Linked DNA regions of Homo sapiens: region 1 is linked to region 2. The links are contacts of gene promoters, found by promoter capture Hi-C in human tissues and cell types (Jung and others, 2019). All regions are on one chromosome and are shown on one strand. Each heading gives the region's core, a stretch centred on a gene start or on the middle of the fragment in contact. The rest is flanking DNA. Distances are from core to core; before and after follow the strand shown.

Region 1 (4,479 bases), core at 377-2,876, 98 kb after region 2:
ACCTTGTCTCAGCCAGGCGCGGTGGCTCATGCCTATAATCCCAGCACTTTGGGAGGCCGAGGTGGGCGGATCACCTGAGGTTGGGAGTTTGAGACCAGCCTGACCAACATGGAGAAACCCCATCTCTACTAAAAGTACAAAATTAGCCGGGCGTGGTGGCACATGCCTGTAATCCCAGCTACTTGGGAGGCTGAGGCAGGAGAATCGCTTGAACCTGGGAGGCAGAGGTTTCGGTGAGCCGAGATTGCGCCATTGCACTCCAGCCTGGGCAACGAATGAAACTCCATCTCAAAAAAAAAAAAAATGTTGAGAGACCTTGTCTCTAAAAAAAGAAAAAGAATAATTTTAGCTGGGTGCAGTGACCTGTAGTCACAGCTACTTGGGAGGCTGAGGCAGGTAGATTGCTTGAGTTTAAGGCTGTAAGTGAGTTACAATCACACCTGTAAATAGCACTGCACTTCAGGTTGTTCAGGTTGCACAACATAACAAGGTCCCTTTACAATTCTTAAAAAAATGTAATTCTAACTTAAGAATTTTTTTTTTTTTTTTGAGATGGAGTCCCACTCCGTTGCCCAGGCTGGAGTGCAGTGGTATGATCTCGGCTAACTGCAACCTCTGCCTCCTGGGTTCAAGTGATTTTTCTGCCTCAGCCTCCCAAGTAGCTGGAACTACAGGCACCCGCCACCATGCCTGGCTAATTTTTGTATTTTTAGTAGAGATGGGGTTTCACCATATTGGCCAGGCTGATCTCAAACTCCTCACCTCGTGATCTGCCCAACTCAGCCTCCCAAAGTGCTGGGATTAAAGGTGTGAGCCAAAAAAAATTTTTTTTAAGAGACAAGGTCTTGCTCTGTCACCCAGACTGGAGTGCAGTGGCACCATCATGGTTCACTGCAGCCTTGACCTCCCAGGTTCAAGTGAACTCTTGGGCTCAAGCAGTCAGCCCACCTCAGCCTCTGAAAGTGCTGGAATTACAGGCATGAGCCACCATGCCCAGCCTTAAAATTTCAATTTATTTATTTATGTCAGTATGGACTCACGAATTTTCATTTTATTCAATGCAGTATATCAATTATTTTCCTTATCTATTTTGATGCTTAAATTGCCCCAGATTTGGTAGTGGGAACCTCTCCAAGCTGGATTCTGTGTCCTTCTGACCATTTCCCATCATTCTTCCAGTACTTCCTTCTGACACAATGTAGAGTTAGAGTATGTATCTGTGTATGTATCTACCTTTTTACATCTATATTTCTATATCTACCTATCTATATATTGGAAACCACAAGTTCACATTGAAGCCTCCAGTTTTAACGCAATATCCTAACAGGGTTCATTTTAGTTTCTCCCTTTCCATAATTTGTGTCTCACTTTACTGACAGTGAGAAACCTGGCTCCCATTACCCTGAATACATTGACTAATTTGATCAATCCCTCTGTATAATCATATAATCTCTCATTGCAGCCACAAACCCCTACTGTATGTGGATGTCCTCCTCACTCTACTTGAACCCTGAATTCCCCATTCTGGGCTACTCAGCACACGTGGATGTCCTCCTTACCTCACCAGGGTTCTGACTGCTGGTGTGGGACCATCTCTTCACCCTGCTTAGGCTTTGACACTGTGCATCAAGCACCACCCTGTATGGATGCCCTCCACATCCTGTGTAGGCTTTTCCCCCACATGGATGCCCTTCTTGCTCTGCTTGGCTTCTGAAACCCACCACCAGGTGCCCACACATGACTACCATCCTCATCCACTTGAGCTCTGACTCTTCATGCCAGGCTGCCCTCCAACCCACGGACCCACTCCTCACTCTGCTTAGGCCTCAATATCCCAAGCCAGACTGCCCCTCTGCATGGATGACTACCTTGCTCTGCCCCACCTAATGTTGCCAGAAAGCTTTATCTGATTATAAAAATCATACACATTCACTGTATAAAATTTGGAAAATATCATTAAAAGCATAGAAAATATATAATCTCACCACCCACAGACATCTGTGCATGTTAACACAACACATATATTTGAAAGATTAATATCACAAAATAAATTATTTTTTGCCTTAAATTTTAATGATCAAGGTTTTCCCTAAAATTTCCAAGACCTTTGAGCGTCATAACAAACCAGCTGGGAAGAGATTAGATACCTCTAAACCATTAAAAGTACTGTCTTGAATTTTTTCAGTACCACCTAATAATTTACTACTTGTAAGTACTGCAGCTTACAAAAGTACCTGACCAGGAAGCTCCGGCACTGGTTAAAGCTCATTAAAAAGAGAAGTTACAATAAAGTTTCCCTGCATTTATTTCAAGCAAGTGCAATCAGGATAGAGCTATTCGGTGTGTTCCAGTGTTATGTGACTCCCTTTTAATAATGTTTGTTATATCTCCTAATTAAGGATTGTGATTTCAAAGAATTAAGTGGGGGACAATAGACAAGTTTACATACCTTCCTAATACCAATAAATGGAGGGCAATTAATTTTAAAGCTTGATTTGCTAGTGTAAATTTAAAGTGTTAATTATAGCTTTAAAATCCCAGTCTGGGCAAAGGGCCACTACTAAGGATTCCATTTATGCAGGCTGTCTTCTATCTGAGAAGTGCTTGTACTGCACTTTCCAATGCATAGTAAAATGCATATGCCTCAGTGGAAGTTTCTTTGGATTAGTTAAAATGCCATGTTGTTGGACATAATTAAATTGTTCCTTTGGGTTTGTGAGGGTTGCAAATCTTTCCAAAAAGGAGCAAGTAAATTCCAAGATGACAGACTCCTAAATGTTCTGGTCACGGCGATCCATTATTGCTCAATTTCTACCACATCTCTAACAGAATATCAGCTGAACTATATCCATTTGTCCCTTGAGATTGTTTCACCTAATTGGGTTTACATTCTGATAAAGGTTAAAACTAGTTCTCCAAACCAAGACACATACATTCATCACTTGTGAAGTGAGGATAAGAATTTTTTTTTATTTATATTTATTTATATTTTTTATTTATTTATTTTTTGAGACGGAGTCTCGCTCTGTCGCCCAGCTGGGGTGCAGTGGTGCGATCTCGGCTCACTGCAACCTCCGCCCCTCCAGGTTTAAGCAATTCTCTGCCTCAGCCTCCGGAGTAGCTGGGATTACAGGCGCGTGCCACCAAGCCCGGCTAATTTTTTGTATTTTTAGTAGAGACAGGGTTTCACCATCTTGACCAGGCTGGTCTTGAACTCCTGACCTCGTGATCCACCTGCCTCAGCCTCCCAAAGTGCTGGGATTACAGGTGTGAGCCACCACGCTCGGCCTTTAATTTATTTATTTTTAGATGAAGTCTTACTTTGTCACCCAGGCTAGAGTGCAGTGGCATGATCTCGGCTCACTGCAACCTCCGCCTCCTGGGTTCAAGCAATTCTCCTGCCTCAGCCTCCAGAGTAGTTGGGACTACAGGTGCGCGCCACCATGCCCAGCTAATTTTTGTATTTTCAGTAGAGATGGGGTTTCACCATGTTGGCTAGGATGGTCTCAATCTCTTGACCTCGTGATCCACCTGCCTTGGCCTCCCAAAATGCTGGGATTACAGGTGTGAGCCACCGTGCCCAGCCAAGAATTATTATTATCATAGCAGATATTTGAACTCTCACTATATACTGTCATTGTACTAATCACTTTATATAAATTTTCTGATTTAACAATTAGAAAATTCACATTATTGCCCTTATTTTTCAGATGAAAAAACTGAAGCTTAGAGAGCTTAAGTAACTTACCAAGAGGCACACAGTTAACAAGGAATGGAGTCTGAATTTAAAGAAAGGCTAACTCCAGAGCCCAAGATTTTAACTATGGTGCCCTATTGCCCCAACTCAGTGGTTCTCAAACTTTTTTGATCTCAGGACCTCTTTATTCTCTTAACAATTATTGTAAAAATTATTGAGGACCCTAAAGAGCTTTTCTTTCTTTTTTCTTTTTTTTGAGACGGAGTTTTGCTTTTGTTGCCCAGGCTGGAGTACAATGGCATGATCTCGGTTCACTGCAACCTCTGCCTCCCGAGTTCAAGCGATTCTCCTGCCTCAGCCTCCTGAGGAGCTGGGATTACAGGCATGTGCTACCATGCCCGGCTGATTTTGTATTTTTAGTAGAGATGGGGTTTCTCCATGTTGGTCAGGCTGGTCTTGAACTCCCGACCTCAGGTGATCTGGCTGCCTTGGCCCCCCAAAGTGCTGGGATTACAGGCATGAGCCACTGTGCCCGGTCAAGAGCTTTTCTTTATGTGGCTTATAGCTATTTGTATTCACTATATTAAAATTGTTTTAACTAAGGAAAATTTAAAATGTTTATTAAATTTCTAAAAAGTAACAGTAATCCAGCCAAGCACGGTGGCTTACGTCTGTAATCCCAGCACCTTAGCAGGCCAAGGCAGGCAGATCACCTGAGGTCAGGAGTTCAGGACCAGCCTGGCCAACATGGTGAAACCCTGTCTCTGCTAAAAATACAAAAG
Region 2 (4,449 bases), core at 1,142-3,641:
GTGGGGTAGGTATTATTTCTCCCTTTTTACAAATGAGGAGCCTGAGACAGAGAGGAGTCCTTTCTTTCTCCTGCTGTCTGGGCCAGGGCACCTGGCATGGAGATCAGGAAGGTATTCGGGCTGAAGGAGACACAGGCCTGCACACCCTCCTCTAATGGGGATGGCCAGCTGTGGGCAGACACTGTGCTGGGCACAGGGCTCCAGGGATGAGCAAGACAGACCTAGTCCTGCCCCCTCAGAGTCATGGCCAGTGGGGACACAGACAGGAAACAGACTCCACTCCCAGTGGGTTCAGTTTGCAGGTGCACAGGGAAGCTGCTGGTGTTGTGAGGGTGTACAACAGAGCAGGAGAGCGGGTACTGACCTGGTCTGGGGGCTGGGGGAAGGCCCAGGGTCTGAAGGATGTGTAGAAGGTGGCAAGGGCACGACCAGGGGGTAAGTGTTCCTGCCGGAAAGCAAGGACCAACCAAGCCCTGAGGGAGTGTAAGAGGCCCGGGGCCAGTTCGTGGAGACAAGAAGAGATTTCCAACTCGATTTGGGGAGTCACTGATGGTTTTAAGCAGGTAGTGGCAGGCTCAGATTCAGAGTGGAAACCCTTGCTGCCTGTCTGCAGCGCACTAGGACACGGGGAGGCAGGAGACCATGGGCTCCAGGAGGAGCCTGGACGCCGGAGCAGGACAGTGGCCATGGGAAAGGGAGAACGTGGCTGGCCCCAGATGAAAAGAGCAGGGCCCCCAAGGCTCTGTGAGTGGGATGAGAGGGGGAGAGGAAGGGGCCAAGGCTGACCCCGTGCTTGGGTGGACAAAGGGCCCTTCACAGAGCTGGAGGCAGGGGATGATCGAGGGGCCCAGGGAGTCAGACTAGAAGCCGGGCTTATTGGAGGAAGAGCAGTGGGCTGGGAGAGGCAGGCATGGAGTGGGATTGAGGGAGCCCAGGGGTGGGAGGGAGAGCTGGGAGGCGGAGGTGCGACCGCGGTGGGGTCAGTGTGCGGGGAGTGGACGAAGCGGAGGATTGATGGGGGCGGGGGTCCCAAGCAAAGATGCTGGAGGGAGGCCTCCGTGGAGCGGACCGAGACCTCAGGAGCCTCCAGTCGGACTGGGGAGGCAAGAAGGAGGCCCTGGCTTCGATCTCGCACACGGCCTCGCAGGGATGAAGCCCGGGAGCCGAGGCTCGGTCTTCCCCACTGTGGTCCCTCTGGTCCGCCCGTTACCTCACCGACCCCCCGAGGGGGCTTTTAAGAGCTGGAAGAGGGGGTCCCGGGGGGCACTGATGCACCCCCACTCTCCTCCGCCGACCCAGAGGGTGGGAGCTCAGGTTCAAGGCCTGGCCTGGCCGTGCGGCTCCGGGACCCGGCTCCGCCCCGCGTCGGGGGGTGGCCCCGGCCCCTGGCCCGCCCCTTCCTCGGGTCCCCTCCCTGTCCGCGGCGCGCAGCCGGGTCTCATTAGCGCCCCTCCCCCCGGCTGCGCGCCGGGGGTCTCCACGGCCGGGGGGAGGGGCGGGCCTTAATCAATCCTAGGCCGGAAATTCCTCCCGGGGGGCCCGGCCTGACCGCTGAGCCTGGAAATCGGTCGCCGCCTCCCCCGAACCCGCCCCCCGCATCATGGAAACTGGGCCGACCGCCGGCCGCCCTGGCTCCCCCGCTCTGCATTCCTGCCTCCAGGGGCGGGAGGGCGCGAAGGCCGGGCCGCCCCCTTCGGGCTCGCCGGCGGGGTCGCAGCTCTCAGCACCCTCCCCGTTATTGGGAACAAGCCCGCTCCCCCACTGGCGAAGGGGCGCCTGTTCTTAGGAGTACCCGGCGGCACATCCGCACCCCGTCCGGTCCTTTCAGCTACAAGGCCCGCCCCTCCCCGGGCGCTGCTTTCGCTGAGGGCTTTGCGGAGTCGCCCCGGGCTGGCCCTTGGCGTCTGGCTCTTGCCTCTCGGCATCTTGCGAGGCTGAAGCCTTGGTGCCCATTGCACAGATGAAGTCCGCGAGGTTCAGCGACAGCAAGGGCTGCGGGACCGGGGCAGAGCAGGGACTCGGGCCGCCTCCTCCTGGAAGCTCCCCGGGCGCCTGGGATGAGGGGCTCTGGGAAGCGGGGAAGGACGTGCGGGTGTCGGGGCTCCTGGGTCCCGGGTCTCAGTTTCCCCATGTAGGAAGGGGTCGCCTTTGTGGGCCTTTGCGACCGATGTAAGCTGGGGGTGGGAGAGTGGGGATGGCAGAACTCGGGCCACGGGTGCCCGGAGTCACCAGGCGCGCACAGGGCGCCTACCTGCGATCCTTTGACCTGAGCTGCCGCCTTTCAGCGGCGGTGGGGCCGGGCCCGGCGCGGGTCGGACGGTCCCGGGGGCTGGAGGCGGGGCCGGGGCGGGGCTGGGGCCGGGCCGTGGAGACCCGGGCGGCTCTGGAGCCTCCGCGCGCGGACTGGGACCCGGACCCGCGCGGCGCTGCGGCGCCAGGTGAGCCGAGCTGGGGTCCAGGGGTCCGCACTCCACTTTTCCCAACTTTTCGTTTGGTCCCTCCCTCCCTCCCTCCCTCCCTCGGTCAGGGCCCCTGGGGGCGGGAGCGCGGCCCTCCCGTTCCCCCAGGCGGGAGTGTGGACGCGGGCGGTGGCGGGACCCTGGAGTCCTGGGGACTCGGCCCCAGCATCTTCTGTCGGGCTGTGCGCTGTGTCCCCAAGTTTCCGCCTCCCTGGTGTCCCCAGCGTCGGCCCACTACCTCCACGGCTCGGGGTCTCTGAGCGTGTCCCCATGTCCCCACTCTGCTTGTTTTCGCTTCCCTCGCGGCAGCGACGCGCGGGGCTCCGGGTGACCTTGCTGGAGCCGGGGCTGAGAGCGCCAGTTCTGGCTTGAAGCGATGATCGCTCCTCCGGTTGCGGGCTGGGGAAAGGGCTGCAAACTCAGGGACAAGGAGGGGATGGGCCTCGCTTCCTCCTGGATACTCCCGTGGCTGTCCTGAGAGGGGTCTAGGGCTGGGGCCCCGGAGCCCGGCGTCGGACCTGGCAGAGCCCCCGCCTAGTGCGGGGTCGGGCAGTCTCCCCGGCCTCCCTGGGCCGTAGTTGCAATCTGTGAAACCAGGCTTTGGACGCGGGAGAGTGGCGGCTCCCTGCTAGGCCCGGGCCTTGAGCGCTCCAGTCGGAGGCAGGGATGGGTGTCCTGCTTTGAGGTTTGGGGTGCAGATGGGGCGTGGGTCGGGGAGCAAGGCCGCCTCCCCGAGGTTTCGGCTGCGGGCTCCAGCGCGGTGGTTCTTTAGGAAGCGGACGCGAGCAGTGAGGACGACCCTGGACAGCTAGGCCCTGAGCCTCCTCTCCTGCGGCCTGGGGCGCCTGGGCGGGGGCCGCGTCTTCTCCCTCGCCCTCCCTTTCGTGGGGGCCACACCGCACGCAGCTCGGCTACTCCTGCTGGGCCCGGGATCCAGGCCACAGGCCGCAGGCAGGGCGCGGCCAGCAATCGGGAGGGCTTAAGCTGTGCGGCCCGGATCCCGAGGCGCAGGGGCGGTGCTGCTCTGACCGGGCCACGGGCCACGGAGGCCTCGGGCGGAGGAGGCGGGAAAGGAGGCCAGGCGGCGGGAAAGGGGGATGATTCATCCGGAGGAGCCCGAATTGGAAACGTCGCAACCTGGGAACAGCCTTGCCCGGGCCGACGGGGGAGCCGGGAGGGCATCCGTCCGGCGGGGCCCAGCGCCCGGCACCGGCACCCCCGCCTGCTGCCGTGGCCCCAGCACGACCGCTGGGGGAGGGAGAGGCCTCTCATGCGTGGACTTGATGGAAATCTTGGGCGAAGTCGGCGCCGCCTCTCCTCCTCTGCCTGGCTGGTCTTGATCCGAGCGGTCTTCCCGGTGTCTAGCTCAAGTCGCTCCTGCTGCAGCTTCGCTGCGGGCGGAGGAGGTCTGGAAGGAGGGGGCGGGCAGGGAGAGGCTGGAGCCGGTGACGCCCCCTCCTCCCGCGCTGCGGTATGTAAAGCACAGTAGGGGGGAGGTGGGGCCCGGCGAGCGACCCCTGCGGACCTGGGAGGCCCGAGCGCCCCCGCCCCATTTGCTACGGTGCAGCCACGTGCGGGGGTGGGGTCGAGCCCGGGAGGTACTTACCCTGGAGACGCGGCAGCTGGGGGCCGCACGTTTCCCGAGGCCCAAGACCCGCGGGCTTGCGGACCGGACGCAGGCGGCAGATTTGCAGCCCGGGATGCGCCAGGGAACAGCCTGCGCCCCCCTCCCTCCTCTCCGCCCGCTGGCCGGGCCAACTCCGGCTTCTGCCGCGCGTGCCTGGCTCGGAGCTCCGCTGCGGAAAACCCGAGCGCGGGCGGCTCCCCGCCTCGCCGCCCGGGAAAATCCGGGGGTGGCCGCCAGGGATCTCCAAGCGGCCTGGGCTGGGCGGCCGGAGCTTCCCTCCCGGATTTGCGCCCCGAACCTGGCGCCCTGAAGCTAGAGGCCCGTCGGTCCAGTCCTTGCCTCCCATCTTCTCTCCGCAGAGCG

The links. Contacts are between HindIII fragments. The study calls those that stand out against the background at their distance.
Region 1: a contact is called between a fragment that was not itself captured here and the fragment with the promoter of TMEM200B in region 2, in 2 of the 25 tissues and cell types used here (H1 embryonic stem cells and heart left ventricle).

What each region holds. Positions count from the first base shown.
Region 1 is chr1:29,023,162-29,027,640 of GRCh38, reverse strand. All of the region lies in intron 7 of EPB41 (erythrocyte membrane protein band 4.1), which reads right to left. Among named protein-coding and RNA genes, the nearest start is that of TMEM200B, 99 kb to the left of the region's middle. The HindIII fragment of the contact is 6,076 bases long and covers 1-4,479 here.
Region 2 is chr1:29,121,845-29,126,293 of GRCh38, reverse strand. It overlaps TMEM200B (transmembrane protein 200B), which reads left to right and starts at 2,391. Exons shown (of 2, transcript NM_001003682.4): 1 at 2,391-2,438; 2 at 4,446-4,449. RefSeq lists enhancers at 398-1,257, 1,258-2,117, 2,118-2,977. The HindIII fragment of the contact is 25,455 bases long and covers 1-4,449 here.